Linked DNA regions of Homo sapiens: regions 1, 3, 4, 5 and 6 are each linked to region 2. The links are contacts of gene promoters, found by promoter capture Hi-C in blood cells and fetal thymus (Javierre and others, 2016). All regions are on one chromosome and are shown on one strand. The core of a region is centred on a gene start or on the middle of the fragment in contact, and the rest is flanking DNA. Distances in the headings are between cores, read along the strand shown.

What was found. Contacts are between HindIII fragments. The CHiCAGO score rates a contact against its expected background, and 5 or more counts as called.
Region 1: a contact is called between a fragment that was not itself captured here and the fragment with the promoter of FAM133B in region 2, in 7 of 17 cell types (M0 macrophages, activated CD4 T cells, endothelial precursors and 4 more). The highest score is 6.5, in M0 macrophages.
Region 3: a fragment that was not itself captured here is called in contact with the fragment with the promoter of FAM133B in region 2 in 1 of 17 cell types (total CD8 T cells); the score reaches 5.0 in total CD8 T cells.
Region 4: a fragment that was not itself captured here is called in contact with the fragment with the promoter of FAM133B in region 2 in 15 of 17 cell types (activated CD4 T cells, naive CD4 T cells, total CD4 T cells and 12 more); the score reaches 12.4 in activated CD4 T cells.
Region 5: a fragment that was not itself captured here is called in contact with the fragment with the promoter of FAM133B in region 2 in 6 of 17 cell types (neutrophils, total CD8 T cells, erythroblasts and 3 more); the score reaches 6.7 in neutrophils.
Region 6: a contact is called between a fragment that was not itself captured here and the fragment with the promoter of FAM133B in region 2, in 2 of 17 cell types (activated CD4 T cells and neutrophils). The highest score is 7.0, in activated CD4 T cells.

What each region holds. Positions count from the first base shown.
Region 1 is chr7:93,023,530-93,026,420 of GRCh38, forward strand. No RefSeq gene overlaps it. Among named protein-coding and RNA genes, the nearest start is that of SAMD9, 93 kb to the right of the region's middle. The HindIII fragment of the contact is 663 bases long and covers 1,085-1,747 here.
Region 2 is chr7:92,588,638-92,591,773 of GRCh38, forward strand. FAM133B (family with sequence similarity 133 member B) reads right to left here and starts at 1,753. Exons shown (of 11, transcript NM_152789.4): 1 at 1,631-1,753. The coding sequence starts at 1,654. RefSeq lists enhancers at 1,481-1,540, 1,631-1,910. The HindIII fragment of the contact is 8,062 bases long and covers 590-3,136 here.
Region 3 is chr7:92,898,786-92,901,959 of GRCh38, forward strand. The region is part of intron 1 of CDK6-AS1 (CDK6 antisense RNA 1); the gene reads left to right. Among named protein-coding and RNA genes, the nearest start is that of CDK6, 64 kb to the left of the region's middle. The HindIII fragment of the contact is 405 bases long and covers 1,534-1,938 here.
Region 4 is chr7:93,040,192-93,043,153 of GRCh38, forward strand. No RefSeq gene overlaps it. Among named protein-coding and RNA genes, the nearest start is that of SAMD9, 76 kb to the right of the region's middle. RefSeq lists an enhancer at 374-888. The HindIII fragment of the contact is 6,307 bases long and covers 1-2,962 here.
Region 5 is chr7:93,085,213-93,088,251 of GRCh38, forward strand. No RefSeq gene overlaps it. Among named protein-coding and RNA genes, the nearest start is that of SAMD9, 31 kb to the right of the region's middle. The HindIII fragment of the contact is 3,136 bases long and covers 1-2,917 here.
Region 6 is chr7:92,874,290-92,877,200 of GRCh38, forward strand. All of the region lies in intron 1 of CDK6-AS1 (CDK6 antisense RNA 1), which reads left to right. Among named protein-coding and RNA genes, the nearest start is that of CDK6, 39 kb to the left of the region's middle. The HindIII fragment of the contact is 1,032 bases long and covers 768-1,799 here.

The DNA.
Region 1 (2,891 bases), core at 166-2,665, 430 kb after region 2:
GGCTTCACGTCTCAGTATGTCTGCATCTCACTAGGCAGAAAGGCCTCTCTGCTTCTGGCGTCCACTTCTTAATGCAGTCATTTTTTGGCCTGGTTTAAAGCCTCAGCACCTATGTGGACAGCGTGGGACATCTTGTGAGTGCTACCCTACACACAGATAGCGTTCCAGCATTTGTCCGTTGCTTTCTTAGAAAACTAGGAAACCACTGAAGTAAGCAGCGGAGTTAACCTCAAAGGTGGGGGTCACGTAGTTCTCATATTATAGCTAATATGTATTTGCCAAAATAGTTCTAAATCTCAGGACCTGTGCTATTTCCTGCATGAATTCCACAGTATAGTTATGAGCCCCTAAGAGTGAACATGTTGTCTAATATCCTCAGTAGATCCCAAATGACTTTTAGTTAGAAAGAGTGAAACTGGATAATTAAACTCTGTGACTATTAATTACCTCTCTGCCTGAACAGAGCCTGCTCTGAACAGCGTTATGCGGTGGATGAGGTTCTGGTCTCATGGCACCAGCAGTTCACACTCTTCCGTGCTTCTACCCCCATTTCACCTTGTCTAGGGAGCCCTCTGTCCCTTGGGGGAAGTAAACACCAGAAGCACTGTGGCCGGAGACAAGGATCTGGGGTCAGAAAACCATTTCAAAGTATAGCCTTGCCACCTATTAGCTGTATGACCTTGAGGGTTCCTTAACATCCATAAGCCTTAGTTTCCTTATCTGACAAATGGAAATAACCTCAAAATGCTGGCATGAATGTCAAATGAGATAGTTCTGCCACCTAGTTAAGACTTGGTAAAAGAAAGCTGTTCTTATTCTTGGTTTTCCCTTGTATGGTTCTCCCTCCCAAGATGTCCCATGTCCCACACACATCCTCTCCCTCCCTGCATGTGAAACCTGCTATCAGAAAAGCATCAGAAAAACAAATTTCATCGTAGCTGCTAAGTGCATTATGGGAAGGAGATAGCACGGTTGTGGTACATGGTGGCATTTAAATACTTTGAGTCAGTTAAGGTACATTTGATGGATCTGCAGACTCTGTGTTTCTGAAGGTATCTGCGTGATTAAATGAAAGAAGGCTAAAAGCTTTCCCTTCATTCAGCAAACCTTCATTGAGCACCTACTGAGTGTGAAGCACTGTGGTAAGCATGCCGTATATGTACGGTAGCATTAGAAGCTGATATTGTCTCTGCACTCACGGAACTTTGAATCTTACAAATTAAAAAAAGGCTAATAGTGGAATGTTAAATACTGGCAACCGTGTAGGATGGGAAAGTAAACGTTAGGCATCTTCATGTTCACAAATTACTACATTCCATTTTATAGTTTGGTAGGAATGGGGGATAAGAGAGTTTTAGGGGAACTAGGAGATTGGGAGGAATGATGGTGAATATGGATTAAAACATAAAAAAAGATAATTTAATTTCTAAGTAAAAGAGCATTCTAATAGGTTGAAAATAATCACACACAAGCAGCTCTAAGATCAAATGACCTCTTGGTTGAGATTCGAGATTGCAGACTGGCTCCCTAAAGCAGCTGAGGCTCAAATTCAGTAAAATATCCATTTATGGCTTGACTAAGCACTGGGATCATTCAATAAAAATGGATATCCTAGAAAAGAGGAAATTGGCTATTTTCTTGATAATTTTATTGAAAAAGTTTCTCTTCTTCAGCAATCAAAAGAATGTACTTCTATTTCCCTCTATTAATAAGTTAGAAAATACAAAAAGCTAATATAATTACAAAAAGCTTACAAAATTATTTAAACCTTTACTAGGTGCTTTGCATGAGACTACCACATTTCACCTAAAATGAAATCCTAAAAAGAGATTATATAAAAACAAACTTTTCTTATAAATTAAACAAAATCTTTGAAACTTTTGAAGGGCTACTAAATCTTGTACAATATGTAGTTTAACTATTCTCCAAATCTGATAATTTTTTTAAAGGATTTAGAACACATAAGTACTAACAGCTCCTTCTCCTGTGGTGCTTATGTGGCACTGTGTGATAGGAGCACTTAAAGAGATTTTTTTCTTTCAGTCCCATTTAATCCTCGACATCACTCTGTGATGTGGCTTTTATGCTCATTTTACTCAGAGGAAACTGAGGCTTAGGTTAATGTCATTTACTGGCAGGCAGAAGAACCAGCATTTGAATTTCTAGCCCTGAGCTTTTTCCACTAAACCAAGTGGCGACACACAAATCTCTATGGGTGACAGTCCTGGCAGCTTAGATTTTGCCTTTTATCTGAAAATGGCTTATGATTTATTTTCTGATTTAGAATCTGAAAAGGATGTGGATTAAGTTATTTTATGAAAACAATTAGCCAGCTCTTGAAGCAAATTTGAATCACATTTTTATGACAAAACTACAAAACCTCGTAATAATCTGACCCTTAGATTGCAAGAAAAAAAGGAGAAGAAGGGTGGGCAAAGGGCAACAGGGAAAGGGAAGAATAATCAGGCTTTGGTGCAGCAGAGAAGAGTAAGAGATGGATTCCCATGAGAAAGTCCCACATGAATGAGGGACACTCATGCCTGGGTCTTCAGGACCTGGTTACCTGCCTATTGTAGGCTCCCACAGGGCCCATGGACTTTTATACTAGGAATGCTATTAGGATGGTATCAGGACTGGTTATGCTGGGAAGAGAGTGGGCATTAGAGATCAGGTACATCCTATAGCAAGAGGCTCACTGAAATATAATACTGTGTATTCAGACTCACACACAGACGAAAACAACTAAACATTGTAAGATTTTTGGATGTGTCCTGGAAGTATATGGCATTTGCTTTCAAGTATGTGCTGACAATCATCTGTTATTTTCCACTTCTGTCCAACGCAGAAAACAATGTGAGAGGCCAGTTTCACCTTTGATATAAGTTCTAGAC
Region 2 (3,136 bases), core at 503-3,002:
CCGCCCAAATCTCATGTCGAATTGTAATCCCCAATGTTGGAGGTGGGGCCTGGTGGGAGGTGACTGGATCATGGGGGCGGAGTTCTCATGAATGGCTTAGCATCCTCCTCTCCCCAGCACTGCATAGAGATGATTTCTCAACAGATGCGGTTGTTTAAAACTGTGTAGCAACTCTCCCCGTCCCTCTCTTGGTCCCGCTCCTGCCATGTAAGACGCCTGCTCCTGCTTTGCCTTCCACCATGAGTAACAGCTCCCTGAGGCCTCCCCAGAAGCAGATGCCGCTAAGCTTCCTGTACAGCCCATAGAACCGTGAGCCAATTAAACACTTTTCTTTATAAATTACCCAGCCTCAGGTTTTTCTTTATAAAAGCCATGCAAGAACTGGCTACTACAGATGGCAAGTGTCATCATTTCGTAAATGTTAAGTCTCCTTTGGTGTGAGACACACACAGCTTGCAAATAATTGTTGAATAAAAAAGCGAGTTCAAGAAACGTAGCACATTCGTTTTACGTGCATTTTCCTCATTTTGCTACTCAGTGGCTAAAACTTTGTCACAGGCAAGCCCAGAAATTGTCAGGCTGCAACCTAAGCTTATTGTTATTTCATTATGTTTACTACTCATTCAATCTGATTCATAACCTGAGTTTTTCAGCCCCCTCCCCGCCCCAGCGGTCTAGAATACTTTCCTCCCATCTCCGCTTCTCAAAAGCACCTTTTCTTTTGAATGCCTTTAGAATCTCTAACAACTATCAAGGACCATTTCCTACTCTTTCTGCTGTAAGTTATTTATGCATCTCTTTTATCTCATTCACTAGAGTAATAATTTTCATGCCCAGTACTCGCTCACACATCTTGCCTTTTGTGATTTCAATTAATCTGTAAGGTTGTAGATAATAATGATCCCCTTTTATAAACGACGGCACAGAGAAGAAAAGTAACTTGTTCTAGGTCACCCAACTTCCGACGGAACAAAACTGACATTCCAGTTTTGTGTTGGACTCGAAAGCCAACTATTTTCACGCCATTCATTCCCTCACAGTGTCTATGGGGGCCAGGTCCTACAGGGCGCTGGAGACACGAAAGCAAATGCTGCCATCCCATTTTCAAACGGGAGCCTGCTTGTCGCTAAAACCAGGCGCGCTGCTGGCTCTCCGGCACAGGGACCGCGTCGAGGCCTCTGTGCCTCCCTCCCACTTGGGTGCGCAGGAGAGGGGTGCGGACCTGGGGCGGCCGATACCAAGGGGCGGGTGAGTCGGATGCGTCCAAGGGCCTAAGTCTTCGGAGTTACATGGCGGGGCCAGGTGTGGGGGGGGTTCCCCGAGCCCTCGCGGTTCTAAGTGGGCACTGGGGGCCCGCGTACAGCAGGCAAGAGTGCAAACCAGCAGCGCCAGAAAGAGCGACGAGGTGAGGGAAGAAAAAAGGGGCGGGCAAGAGAGAGCTGGGAACCCTAAAGCGCCAACTGCGTGCGCGGCGCACGCGCATCTGGGATCGGCGGAGGGTGCTGGGTCTCCAGGCCCCACGTCTGAGGGCTGCCGCTTGCCCTCCGGCCCGGCCGGGAACAGCGAGGGTTCTCGCTGTCCTGCCGCCGGGCCCTGCGTCGCCCCACTGTTTTCCCGGCTGAGTACTCACCACCCGATTGTCCCGCTTCCCCATGGTGCTGGATCGAGCGCACAGTAGCACGCCGAGGGAAACCGGGCCGGAGAGACTGCCGAAGAGGGCCTGCCGCAGGTCCTCTTGCCGCCTCCCCACTCCGCCTAGAGAGCGGCACCACGCGGACTCGACGGCCGCGCTCTGCTACAGCGCCCCCTATCTCTGTGGAGGACAGGCCGGCTCCAGAGATCGCTGCAGTTGGCGGAGCGCCTGCAGGAGTCCGGTCGTTCATTAGGCACCCAAGAGCAGGCGACGCTGCGCTTCTGCACCGGAGCCCCACCAAGGCAGCTCGCTTCAGTTTGGCCTTGGATTGTTTTGCTTTCTTCCATTCTTTTTTTTTTTTTTTTTTTTTTTTTTTTTTTTAGACAGACTCTCGCTCCGTCGCCCAGGCTGGAGTGCAGTGGCACGATCTAGGCTCACTGCAGCCTCCACCTCCCGGGTTCAAGCGATTTTCCTGCCTCAGCATCCCGAGTAGCTGAGATTACAGGCGGCCGTCAACACGCCGGGCTAAATTTTTTGTATTTTTAGTAGAGACAGGGTTTTACCACGTTGGCCAGGCTGGTCTATAACTCCTGACCTCAAGTGATCCGCCCGCCTCGACCCAAAGTGCTGGGATTACAGGCATGAGCCACTGCGCTTGGCCTTTCTTCCATTCTTGATACACTGAAATACTCATTCGAGGGGACACAAAGATTCTCCCGATGCTTATTTTGTGCTTGACAGAGTGCAAGTGCTGGGGACAAAGTGAGGACCAAAGAGCCTTGGTCCCTCACGGAGCCCATCAGCTGGTGGGGGGAAAGGCAGTGCTGTCATAGACGCTGCTAACGAAATCACCCTTTAATTTCAATCCCATTCATTCATCACCTGTGCATTCATTTCACACTAATTTTTGAACATGTAGTTTGTACAGTTTTCACTAACTGGGTGGCTGGAAGCTGGAGCTGGGTAGGGCACAAAGATGATTAAGAAAAATCCCTATCGTCAAGGAGCCTGTTTATAAACTCGTAAGGGCAATAAACACACACAGGGCCAACTTTACTGCATAGCATATCGTAATATTGGCACTACTGCACTGCAACTTTAAGGAAGATGATCTGGGCTCCAGAGAAGATAATCATATTTAGTAAGTATTTATAGATAAAGCGACCCCTCTGGGTTCATCTTAGCAAGTATCATTAGGAAGTAGTTGAAAATCAATTAGGATCTTCTCCGGACTCTTGGAAATGGCAAAATGGGAATTACACTAATTACATACAAGAACATGCTTTAAAATCATCTTTCCCGATCTCTGCCTCCCTCCCTCCCTGCATTTTTCATGCTACACTATATGACAGATGCTCCCAACTACCATCTTCTGTCTCAAAACTTTTCCAAACTCTCACATGCAGTCCTTGGTGGTTCTGCTCCCTACTAAGTGTTGATTCTTCCTCAGTAACCCACTTTCCAAAATGAGGCCTCCAGTCTCTCATTTCTCCTCCTCCTCCA
Region 3 (3,174 bases), core at 486-2,985, 310 kb after region 2:
AACTCCTGCAGCTAGCTCGAGGTCTGCCCAAACGGCCACCCAGTTTTGTGCTTGAAACCCAGGGCCTTGGTGGTGTAGGCACCTGAGGAAATCTCCTGGTGTGCAGGTTGTGAAGACTGTGGGAAAAGTGTAGTATCTGGGCCAGAATGCACCATGCCTCATGGCACAGTCCCTCACGGCTTCCCTTGGCTAGGTGAGGGAGTTCCCTGACCCCTTGTGCTCCCTGGGTGAGGTGACACTGCACCACGCTTCGGCTTTCCCTCCATGGGCTGCTCCCACTGTCTCAGTTGGAAATGCAGAAATCACCTGCTTTCTGTGTTGATCTCACTGGGAGCTTCATACTGCAGCTGTTGCTATTTGGCCATCTTGCCAGCCACCTCTGAATCATAAGATTTCTATACATATTCTAGGTATAAGTCTCTCATCAGAAATATGATTTGCAAATATTTTCTCCCATTTCGTGGGTTGTCTCTTCACTTTCTTGATGATAACTTTTGTAGCACAAGAATTTTAAATTTTGATGTAATCCAATTTATCCATGTGTTTCTTTGTTGCTTGTACTTTTAGTGTCATATCTATGAAACTTTTCTCTTACTCAAGGTTATAAAGGTTTAAGCTGATATTTTCTTTTAAGAGTTTTATAGTTTTCATTTTGTAAACTAGTTTTATGAAACTATAGTAGTTCTTACAGTGAGGTCTTTGATCTATTTTGTGTGAATTTTTCTACATAGTGTGAGGCAAGGGTTCAGCACCATTTGCTACAAAGTCTATTCTTTGTCCATTGAATGGTTTGAATAGTTGAGTTGAATCTGTAGATCAGTTTGGGAAATATTGCCCATGAACATGGGTGTATTCATGGTATCTGATCTATGAAAATGGTATGTCTTTCCATTTATTTAGGTTGTCTTTAATTTCTTTCAATAATATTTTATACTTTCCAGAACACAAGTTTTTCACTTCCTTTGTTAAATATATTTGTAAATATTTTATTATTTTTGATGCTATAAGAAATGAAATTATTTTCTTTATTTCATTTTGGATTGTTCAGTGCAAGTGTGTAGAAATACAATTGATTTTTGTATAATGATCTTGTATCCTGCAGCATTGCAAAACTTATTAGTTTGAATAGTTTTTGCTAGATTATCTAGGATTTTCTGAATCATGATGACTTAATCATGTCATGTATACATATATTTTACTTCTTTCTTTCAAATTTTATTGCTTTCATTTCATTTTCTCCCCTAATTGGCTCACCTTGTATAATGTTAAATGGAAGTAGTGAGAATAATCACTCTTGTCTTGTTCCTGATCTTAGGGGAAAAACATTCAGTTCTTCACCCTTATGTATTACACAAGTTGTATATACCTTACCTGAACTAGTTGGGATCAGAAGTGTTCTGGATTTGGTGGTTGTTTTTTTGGATTTTGGTATATTTGCATTGTACTTACCAGTTGAATATCCCAAATAAAAAAACCAAAAATTTGAAATGATCCAGTGAACATTTCCTTTGAGCGTGATGTCAGCACTCAAAAAGCTTTGGATTTTAGGGCATTTTGGATTTTGGACTTTCAGATTTGGGATGCTCAACATGTATTAACTGTGGGTTTTTCATATATGCACTTTATCAAGCTGAGAAAGTTCCCTTCCATTCCTAGTTTTTTATAAACAATATTTTAGTCTTGCATTGTGTGAAATGTTTCCCTTTTCTATTGAGATGATCATGTGAGATGATCATGTTTTGTTCTTTATTGTATTGATATGATGTATTACATTGATTAATTTTTGGTCTGTAAACATTTGTGGGCTGTTATCCATTACAGTGTCTGCTCAACAGTTATACCTTGACAAGTGTGAGATAAATGCTGAGTCCTGGCCATGTTGCTGTCCCTCATTTTTAAAAAAAAACATTTGATATTAAGTATGGTATTTCTAATGGAAGCTTCTATTAAATGTCACACTGTAAAATTCAAAATTTGCCATTTCTCAGTTTCCTAAACTTAATAGAGCTCTTACTAAATTGTCTTTATGAGAAATGTGTCTCTTCCTATTTATCTGAAAGTAGATGAAGAGAATTTTGTATTGCTCCAGCCCTTCAGCCAAAATTAAATCAGAATAGGATGAAATTCTTAAACAACATGAGTGTGTATCTATAATACACCTTTCAAAAGGAACAAGTTCTTACCAAATTATGCTGTTGTTTTTACTGGAGTCTTAGCTTTTATGATTTTAAAAACATCTCTAAGGCTCAAATTCTATCGTTCTTGATTTGAAATCAACCTCTTCTTTTCCTATATCGTTGGAAGGGTTACACAGCTATGGCCCAAAAGCCAAATTTGGCCTGTAGATATGTTTTATTTGTCCGTAGACTTTTGAAAGTTAGGTCAAGCATGTGCTCCTAGCTAGACACCACATTCAATCTTCCTATTGTCTTTTATTATGCATTTAAGCATGGCTTTGGAGTTTGTAATTCTTGAAGTAAACATCTGGTTTTTGGCATTTTTATTTATCTCAATGGAACCATTATCTCTTGGCTTACCCAAATTTGAAATATTGGAATCATGGAATCATTATTAATAATTTTTATGAAGTTTTTTTAATATAAAAATCACTTAAATACAAATAGATTCTCATTATCTAAGATTTAGACAATCAAAAGTACAAAATGCTGAAAGTCCCTTTTCACTTCTGTCTACCACTTTTTTCTCATTTACATGTAATCATTGTCATTAAGTTGGGATGTGTTCTTCCAGCTCACTTTGTAGACTTTTACACACACACACACACACACACACACACACACACACGGGCTATTTTTTTGTATAAAAAATAGGCTTGACAAATATAGTCCAACTTATTAACAATGGTTACTTCTAGATGGGGAAGAAATAGTAGAGAGGAGTGAAGGGGCTTTTCAATCTTTAGCCATTACTACCAATTCTGTATAATCATGACTTACAAACATATTTATATGAAGACTAAGTCAGCAAGACACAAAACCCAGCAGCTATAAATGAGAATATTGATAGATTGACTATGTAAAAATATTATACTGTATCAGTCAGGGTTCAACCAGAGAAGCAGAACCAGCAGGGAGAATAATTATAAATACAAATTCAAATTTAAATACACACACACACACACACACACATACACATATATATAGACAGATATAG
Region 4 (2,962 bases), core at 325-2,824, 450 kb after region 2:
CAAGACAAGAACTCGGGACCCACCAAATGGCAGGGTCAACAGAGCTATAACACAGGGCTGAAATGTGCCCCTTGCTCGCCACATTGTAGGCAACAAGAAGGACAGCAGAGAGAAGGAGAGAAGAAATGCGACCCTTTGGGGAGCTCAGACCTGGGAGCTCCCCAAGCCAGGGCTGTGACACCTCCTTTGGGGCTCAGCAATTCCTGCTGTCTCCAAGTTTTTGGGCACCAGTGCATTCCTTGGTGCCAGCCGTGGAAGCTGCTTGCAGTATGCAGTATGCAAGGCTAGTCCAGCTGCAGCCTTGCAGGGAGCCGACACCTGTGCTGGCTCCTGGAGTTCCCTGCCCCCACTGCCGCCAGCATGCCTGGCTGTGCGCAGTGGCCGGACACCTCACTTACCCACACACCCCTCACCGCTCTGCTCACCCTTGGCAGGCATGGGATCCAGGCCAGTAGCACGAGTTGAGTGCAGCCTGCCAGGCTGAGTGGGCCCAGCAGGCCCAAGCAAAACTTAGGCAAAGGCACCACCGGCCACAGAGATTTCCGGCTGGCGAAGCAATACCCTAAGAATCCTGTGACAATGCCAACACAATTCTGGTTTGTTAAAAATTTCAAATGTGTCACATTTTGATAAGGCCAAACAGAGCAGAACCATGAATATGCTAAAACCTATTAAAGAGTTATTTGAAATCAGGAATCAATATTTACACTATGGATATGCTGCAGGCTCCTGCATGATAGGTATGGCAGTTAGTTGAATTTTAAAGACGTCGTCTATTTTGGGTATAGATACCTTCAAAAGCAGGAAAATATGGAAAATTTAAATTTGCTATGCTTAAATTCTTATTAACATTTCTAACTTTTTTTTTTACTATCCCTTATTCTTACTTCTATCAATTATTTGCAAAATGACTTAAAAATATTTTTGAAAATATTTTAAAAAATTTAAAGGGTTTATTGGCCCCAGATGGTAAATGGTGATTTTTTTTCCTGGTATAATGAAGGTAAATGAGCTCTACTTGATGTATTTCAGTACATGTATCAATGTACATCAATAAGTGAATGGATAAAGGAATGACTCTAGACCCAATCAGTAAGAATATGAGGTGACTTTCAAAAAGAATATACAATAAAAGAAAGCAAGATAGAAAGGAGATCAAAGTGAAGGAAAAATACTTCTTTATTTTCAATTTCAGTGCTTGAGAAATAGAGCCAAATATAGCTACTGGTTGTAGCAACTACTGCAGTCTCCTTAGCTACAGAGAAGCCATGATGGCTCCTGTGCTGCTCATCAAGATTTCAAAGTTACAAAGTGAACCCAACTCCATGCCCAGTTCAGTTACAAAGTTGGAGACGGAGTTGTGCACACCTACAGGTATGTTATCTGAAAGAAGACATTGTGAGAACATAGAGCCTCATGACTTTGAAAAAAATATATTATACATCAAAATGCAATTTTTAATGAGTCTGCTTTCTGTTCCTATAAGCCAACTCCAACTCACTGCTTTGCAACTTGAGCCTTTATTCTTTATGCAACACTTATACTTCATTTCGTGCTGCCTTTCCCTTCTCAGTTGACAGTTCCAGTTTCCACAGAGGCAAAAAACAAAAACAAAAACAAAAACAAAAAACAACAACAAAAACAGCTGCATTTAAATATATATTTAAAATTTATGATATATATGCAAGGATGTTTATGGCAGCATTATTGATATTACTGAAGAATTTGGGATAACTTTAATGACCATAAATATGGGAAGGACTAAATAAAACATACACTGATATTCTGGAATATTATGGAGCCACTACAAATAATATAATACTGGTATTAAAGGCTATTCATGATTACATTTCTGAGTAAAAAGGAAGTTATAGAACAATATGTTTAACAAGATCCCATTAAAAAGAAGCGATCCTCTCTCTATAGGTACATTAAATGTATATTGCATGTATACAAGCATATGCAATACACACATATATTTTATACACATATATATTATACAGTATATGTGTTTGTGTGTTTAAAAAGACTGGAAAGATACTTGTTGGATTTGTAAGTGATTATTCCAGGGGAGTGGGAATGGAGGTAATTTTTACTTTTAATTTTAAACATTTTGGTATTGTTTTCTTTAACAAGAAGGTGATACATTAATAATTCAAAACTTTTTTTAAAGATAGAGCATATCTGCTATTGAGAGTGTACTTTGTAAGTGATGTCCATTTTTTTTCTCTTTCTCTCTCTTTTTTTTTTTTTGTAGAGATGGGGTCTTGCTATACTGCCCAGGCTGGTCTAAAATTCCTGCCCTCAAGCAATCCTCCTGTCTTGGCCTCCTAAAGTGGTAAGATTACAGGCATGATCCACTACACCTGGCTGGATGTCCATTTTTATGTATCTTCTCTAAAAATGCATTATGTGTACAACTGGGTCTTCAGTATCTGACTTTTCATCCCAGGCTCAAATGTTTCCTAGACTCTTAAACATGCCATTGTCACTTCTGAAGCATAGAAAAGGCACAGAGAGATAAAATGATTTAAAAAAAATCATCATCCAAGTTCTTGATAGTGGTAAGTCAACAAACTAAATCATAATTAATATTTTGCTTAGCCACCGATGAAGTGATATCAAATCTTATTAAATATGATTAATTAAAGCATTGTTGTAAATAAACACAAATCACTGACCACCTCAAAGCCTTTGCAGCCACTTTTGAGAAGTGCAGCTCTAAGACTAACTTGGATTTTTCCACTCCCAGTCTCATCCTCAGACAGCCCAATTACTGGGAAACACAAGGCTGAATTTGAAATTATTTTATGGGGGCGATTTTTCTGTCCCCTTACCCCCAGTTTCAACTCAATTAAGGATGCTTTCTTGTTTGGCGATTGCCCGATTGTGGGATATCTTCATATAAATTCCCCCAAAATGGAATCATGGATAGATATGTTGTAACAAACTGCACATTCCC
Region 5 (3,039 bases), core at 100-2,599, 500 kb after region 2:
AAGAAGACATACAAACAGCTAACAAACACATAAAAATGTTCAGCATCACTAATTATCAGATAAATACAAATTAAAACTTCAATAAGAATATCATCTTACACCAGTCAGAATGGCTATCATTAAAAAATCAAAATGCAAAAGATGCTGGCATGGATTCAGAGCAAAGGGAACACTTATACATTGTTGGTGGGAATGTAAATTAGTTCAACCTCTATGGAAAATAGTATGGAGATTTATCAAACAACTAAAAATAGAGCTACCATTTGACCCAGTAAATCCAGTACTGGGTGTTTACTCAAAGCAAGAGAAATCATTATATAGAAAAGACACCCGTACTTGTATGTTCATTGCAGCACTATTCACAATAGCAAAGTCATGGAACCAACCTAAGTGTCCATTGACAGTTGAATCATTAAAGAAAATGTGGCATATATACACCACGGAATACTACTCAGCCATAAAAAGAATGAAATCATGGTTTTTGCAGCAACATGGGTGGAGCTGGAGGCCATTATCCTAAGTAAACTAACTCAGAAACAGTAAGTCAAATACCACATGTTCTCAGTTATAAGAGGCAGGTAAACAATGAGTACACATGAACATAAAGATGGAAATAATAGACATTGGGGACTCCAAAAGGGAGAGGGTATGATGGGAATAAGGGTTGAAAAATTACCTATCAGGTATAATATTTGCTATTTGGGTAATGAGTACACTAGATGCTCAATCCCAGTGTGCAATATACCCATGTAACAAACAAGCATGTGTACCACCAAATCTAAAATTTAAAAATAATAATAATAAAAATTCTTTTATATTTTAATTATCTTTTAAATAAAAAGATTTATTATCTTATTATCTTTTTATTATTATTCAACAAAGAATATCTTTGTGGAATTTCTCATCAAATTATGAATTATTTTCCCAATTCCTTTGTATTGGCTGTGTTCTCTTGTATTTTACTGAGTTTCCTTAAGATCATTACCTTGAATTGTTTTTCAGGTATTTCATGGATTCTCATTTCTCTGGGGTCTGTTACTAGAGAATTATTGTGTTCCTTTGTGGAGGTGTCATATTTCCTTGCTTTTTCTTTTCTTTTCTTTTCTTTTTTTTGTTTTGGTCATGCACATTGATATCTGTGCATCTGGTGTAACAATTGCTCTTCCAATTTTATGGAGTAGCTTTTGCAGGAAAAAACTTTGCCCTATACATGTATCTATAGTGTCAGTTGGGTGGGGTGCTTTGGCTTTGGTCCTGGGGGCTGTAGTATAGTCCTTGTATGTTCTCTTGGGCTATCATCAATACCAGTGCAGTCTGTGAGTTTCTCAGTGACTTAAGCTGTGGATATTTGTGAAGGTTGTGATGCAGCTTTGATGGAGACAGGGGCACTGGGCAGGCCAGTCCTTGGGACCATGGGGGACCCACGCAGGTGTGTGATGGCCCCATTTCTGGAAAGGGAGGGTTTTCCAGTGGTGGTGATGACAGACCCTGAGTGGGCTGGTCCTCAGGCCCCTGGGTAGCATGTTCAGGCACCAGTGGTTGTGGTGGTTGTGATGGGCCTGGGTGGGCTGGTTTTTGTACCCCTGGGTGGCACATGTGGGTGCTGGCAGTGGTGGCAACAGGTTTTGGGTGAGCTGATCCTTAAAACCCTGGCCAGCATGCATGGTGGCCCTGCTGCTGGAGGAAGTGAAGTTGCTGGTGGTGGTGGTGTTACGCCCCAAGTAGTGCAGTGCTTGGGTCCCTGAGTGGTGCTTGTGGCCCTGCTGTTGAAGGGGTCAGGGTCAGTGTTGACAGAAGTGGCTCTGGGCAGGTGGCTCTCAGGTTCTTGGGAGTACATGTTTTGGCTCCCTATATTCGGGGGACAACTTCCCTGATGCACAGGACCATCTGTTTCACAGGGCATAAGGTGCTATATGGGATTCGGTACTAGGGATGTGGCTGCACCACTGGGTCCAGGTGGTATTGTAATGCTGTGTCCTTCTGGGTAGATTAGGGAGATGTCTCCATATATTTTCTTTCTTTATTCATCTGTTGATGAAAACTTATGTGGCTTCCTCATCTTGGCTATTGAGAATAGTGCTTCAATAAACATGGGAGTCTAGATACTTCTTTGACACACCAATTTCCTTTCTTTTGGACATATACCCAATAGTGGTATTTTTGAATCGTATGGTAGTTCTATTTTTAGTTTTTTTAGGAACCGCCATGCTACTTACCATAGTGGCCATACTAATTTACATATCCACCAACAGTGTATGAGGCTTCTCCTTTGTCTGCATTCTCACCAAAATTGTTTTTTGTCTTTTTTTTTTTTTTTTTTTTTTGAGTCTTGCTCTGTTGCCCAGGCTGGAGTGCAGTGGCGCAATCTTGACTTACTGCAACCTCTGCCTCTTGGATTCAAGTGATTCTTGTGCCTCAGCCTCCCAAGTAGCTGGGATTACAGTGTGCACCACCACACCTGGCTAAATTTTTTTTGTATTTTTTTTTTCGTAGAGATGAGGTTTCGCTATGTGGGCCAGGCTAGTCTCCAATGCCTGGTCGCAAGTGATCCACCTGCCTCAGCCTCCCAAAGTGATGGGATTACAGGTGTGAGCCACCATGCCCAGCCTGATAAAAGTCCTTTTAACTGGGGTGAGATGATATCATGTTTTGGTTTTGATTTGCATTTACGTGATGCTTAGTAATGTTGAGCATTATTCATACATTTGCTGGCCATTTGCATATCTTCTTTTGAGAAATGTCTGTTTAGATCTTTTGCCCATTTAAAAATCAGATTATTTGTTATTTTGTTATTGAGTTGTTTGAGTTCCTTACATAGTCTGGATATTAATCACTTGTCAGTTGAATAGTTTGCAAATACTTTTTCCCATTCTGTAGGTTGTCTCTTCACTTTGCTGATTATTTCCTTGCTGCATGAAGCTTTTTAGCTTAATGTGATCCAATTTGTCCATTTTGCTTTGGTTGCCTGTGCTTTTGAGGTCTTACTTGAGAAATTGCTGCTCAGATCAATGTCCTGGAGAATTCCCTCAATGTTTTCTT
Region 6 (2,911 bases), core at 34-2,533, 290 kb after region 2:
GAGTCTGTTGTTTGATAGAGCAACATATAACAGAAGGATTATAACTATTGCTAGATCAATTAGGGTCAACAATATAATATTTTCTTGATTATCTTTTTTTTTGGTCAAAAATGCAGGATAAAGAATGCCCATAAATTTCTCACAGTGCATACTCATGTCCATTATTTTCTAAATAGCTTTATAGCAAATTTAGTGCCTTTTTTGTATTTACTTGATTCTGCTTTGTTTTCAGATAAGGGCATATAAAACACTAGATTAATAGCGTAACAAAAATTTCGCATGTGTTGAAAAATTTCTAGAGGGCATTACAGGCATTTTCTATTCATTCCCCAAGACCCAGCTGAAAGGTCACCTTCACAGGAAGCTTTCTCAGCTTTACTCATACAGTCAGTTGTTTCCTTCTGTTCCCACAGCACTTAGCCCAGACCACTGTATAGCATTTTTATCTATTACTTAGTGTGATTATTTGCTTCCCTTTAATCTGGAAATTCTTCAGAAACAGAGACCTTGCATTAATCATTATGTCTTTATCATCTAGCACAGTACGTGGCATATGGTAGGCATGTAATAATTACTATGGGACAACAATATTTATGGTAAGTGAATGTAGAAACCATGTTTAGCTTGCAGATATACAGCTGCAATTCAGAAGTTGAAGCCCCTTGAGACTTCATTTTTGCCATTAGGTTGTCTGATGACTCTGTTAAAAAATTCAGCGTGGTCTGGTTCGTTTTCTAGTCTTTCAAATCTCCCAAAGAATGGTTCAAAGCTTTGGTTATATTAGATTTGTTATGTTGAATTCAACTTGAGGTTAGGAGGCTATAGGAGAAAAAATTGGAAATGTTTGGGCTTTATATAAAGACTTGGATGGGAGTAATATCAGCAAGATGGCAGAATAGGAGGTCTTAGGCTTCAGTCCACCACACAGAAAGTCCAACTAGCAACTATTCAGACAAGAACACCTTTGTGAAAACTGCAAAACTTGGAAATGAGACTGAGATACCTACATGGACCACAGAAATGAAAAACTATATTAGAAGGGTAAGAGGAACTGTCTCACTTTAACCATGTCAGCACAGTCCCACACAGAGGAAATTCCCCAGGCCTATGGTTTCTATAGTAGGAAAAGTGAGCCTGGTTGGACATCCAGCTTCCCCAGCATCATGGGTCACCCACTCCTATCTTGCCTTATGGGGGAATACTATGGGTAATGGTGGGACTAGAGCGTTTGGAGTCCAGTAAAAACAAAAAAAGGGGGAAGGGTTCATAGTAACCACTATACAGATCTTGGTGGTAGCTGTGTATTCCTGCCAATGGTGGCACCTGATCAAAGATACCAAGCCAATGTTATAGCCTACCCACAAAGCTGAGCTGATTGCTCCCAGAAATACAGTGGGAAGTTCTACCTGGCTTGAGTCCCTAGCCAGCCACTCCAACCAACCTCACAGCCTACCACAATGGTCCACCCAGGCAGGGAGATGTATGCCATCATGTATTTCTGCAGACCACAGGGGCTGGACCTGCCTGACCTGGGAGCCCAAACAGTGACTTGGCCCTACCTCAGAGCTTACCTCAAGATTGTGCTCTAGCAGGGAAATGCCTGCCACTGTTTTTTTGTTTTTTTTTTTTTTTGTACAGCATAGGGGCTGGCCCTGCCCAACCTGGGAGTTGAAACAGTGACTCAGCCTAGTCGCAGAGCCCACGCAAGACTCTGCCCAGGCAAGGAGGCAAGCCTCAACTATGTATTCCTATGGAGCATAGCCTCTAGTCTTGAAAATTCCAAGCAATGACTCTGCCTAAGCTTAAAGCCCAGTCCACAGGCTGTCCAACTCTAGAATCCAAATAGTAGTACTGCACAGCCAGGGAATACAGCCTGTGACTCTGCTGGATTAGAGGTAATCACAGTGCCTGGCCAATAGGTCAGCCAGACTGCAGAGTCCAGTGAATGGTCTCACTGGACTGCAGCCCCCAACTGTAGTACCACCCAACCTAACAGCAAAGGCAATGGAACCTAAAGAAACAGAGATCTATAAAATGACAAAGAATTCAGAATAAATCTCTTAAAGAAGTTCAGTGACCTGTTTAAAAAAATAAGGATAGAAAATTAAAATTTGGAAGCCAATACATGAAAAAAATGAAAAGTTTCACAAAAAATAAAAACAAATAAACAAAAACCAAATAGAAAACATAGAAATGAAAAAGACAGTTGCTTAATAGAATAATTCAATAGAAGGCTTCAACAGCAGACTCAATCAAGCAGAAGAAAGAATAAGTGACCTCAAAGAGAGACCATTTCAAATTTTATAGTAAGAGAATTATAAATAAATAAATGAGAAAGAATGAAGAAAGTCTATAGGAATTGGGGGGTACTTTCAAGAAAACTGACTTTTGCATAACAAAAATACCAGAAGGAGAAGAGAAAGAAGGCCAGGAAGCATATTTTAAGAAATAATAACTGAAAACTTCCCAAATCTGGGGAAGGATGCCAACATCCAGGTACCAGAAGCCCAGAGAACTCCAATAAAATTCAACCCAAAGAGGAGTTCACCAAGATACATCCTAACCAGACTATTAAAAATCAAAGACCAAAAAGAAAAAGACAAAAAAAGAATTCTGAAAGCAGTGAGAGAAAGGAGACTCATCACATAAGAGGGAGTCCCAATGCAGCTATCAGCAGATTTCTTAGCAGAAACTTTGCAGGCCAGGAAAGAGTGGGATGATATATTAAAAGTGCTGAAGAAAAAAAATTGCCAGCTAAGAAAACGTCACCTAGCAAAGCTATTCTTCAAAAATGAGGAAGAAATAAAAACTTTCCCAGACAAACAAAAGCTAAGGGAGCTTATCACAAGGCCTGCTACAGGGAGTTCTTTAAGCTGAAATAAAGGCCACTAACTAATAAAATAAAACATAT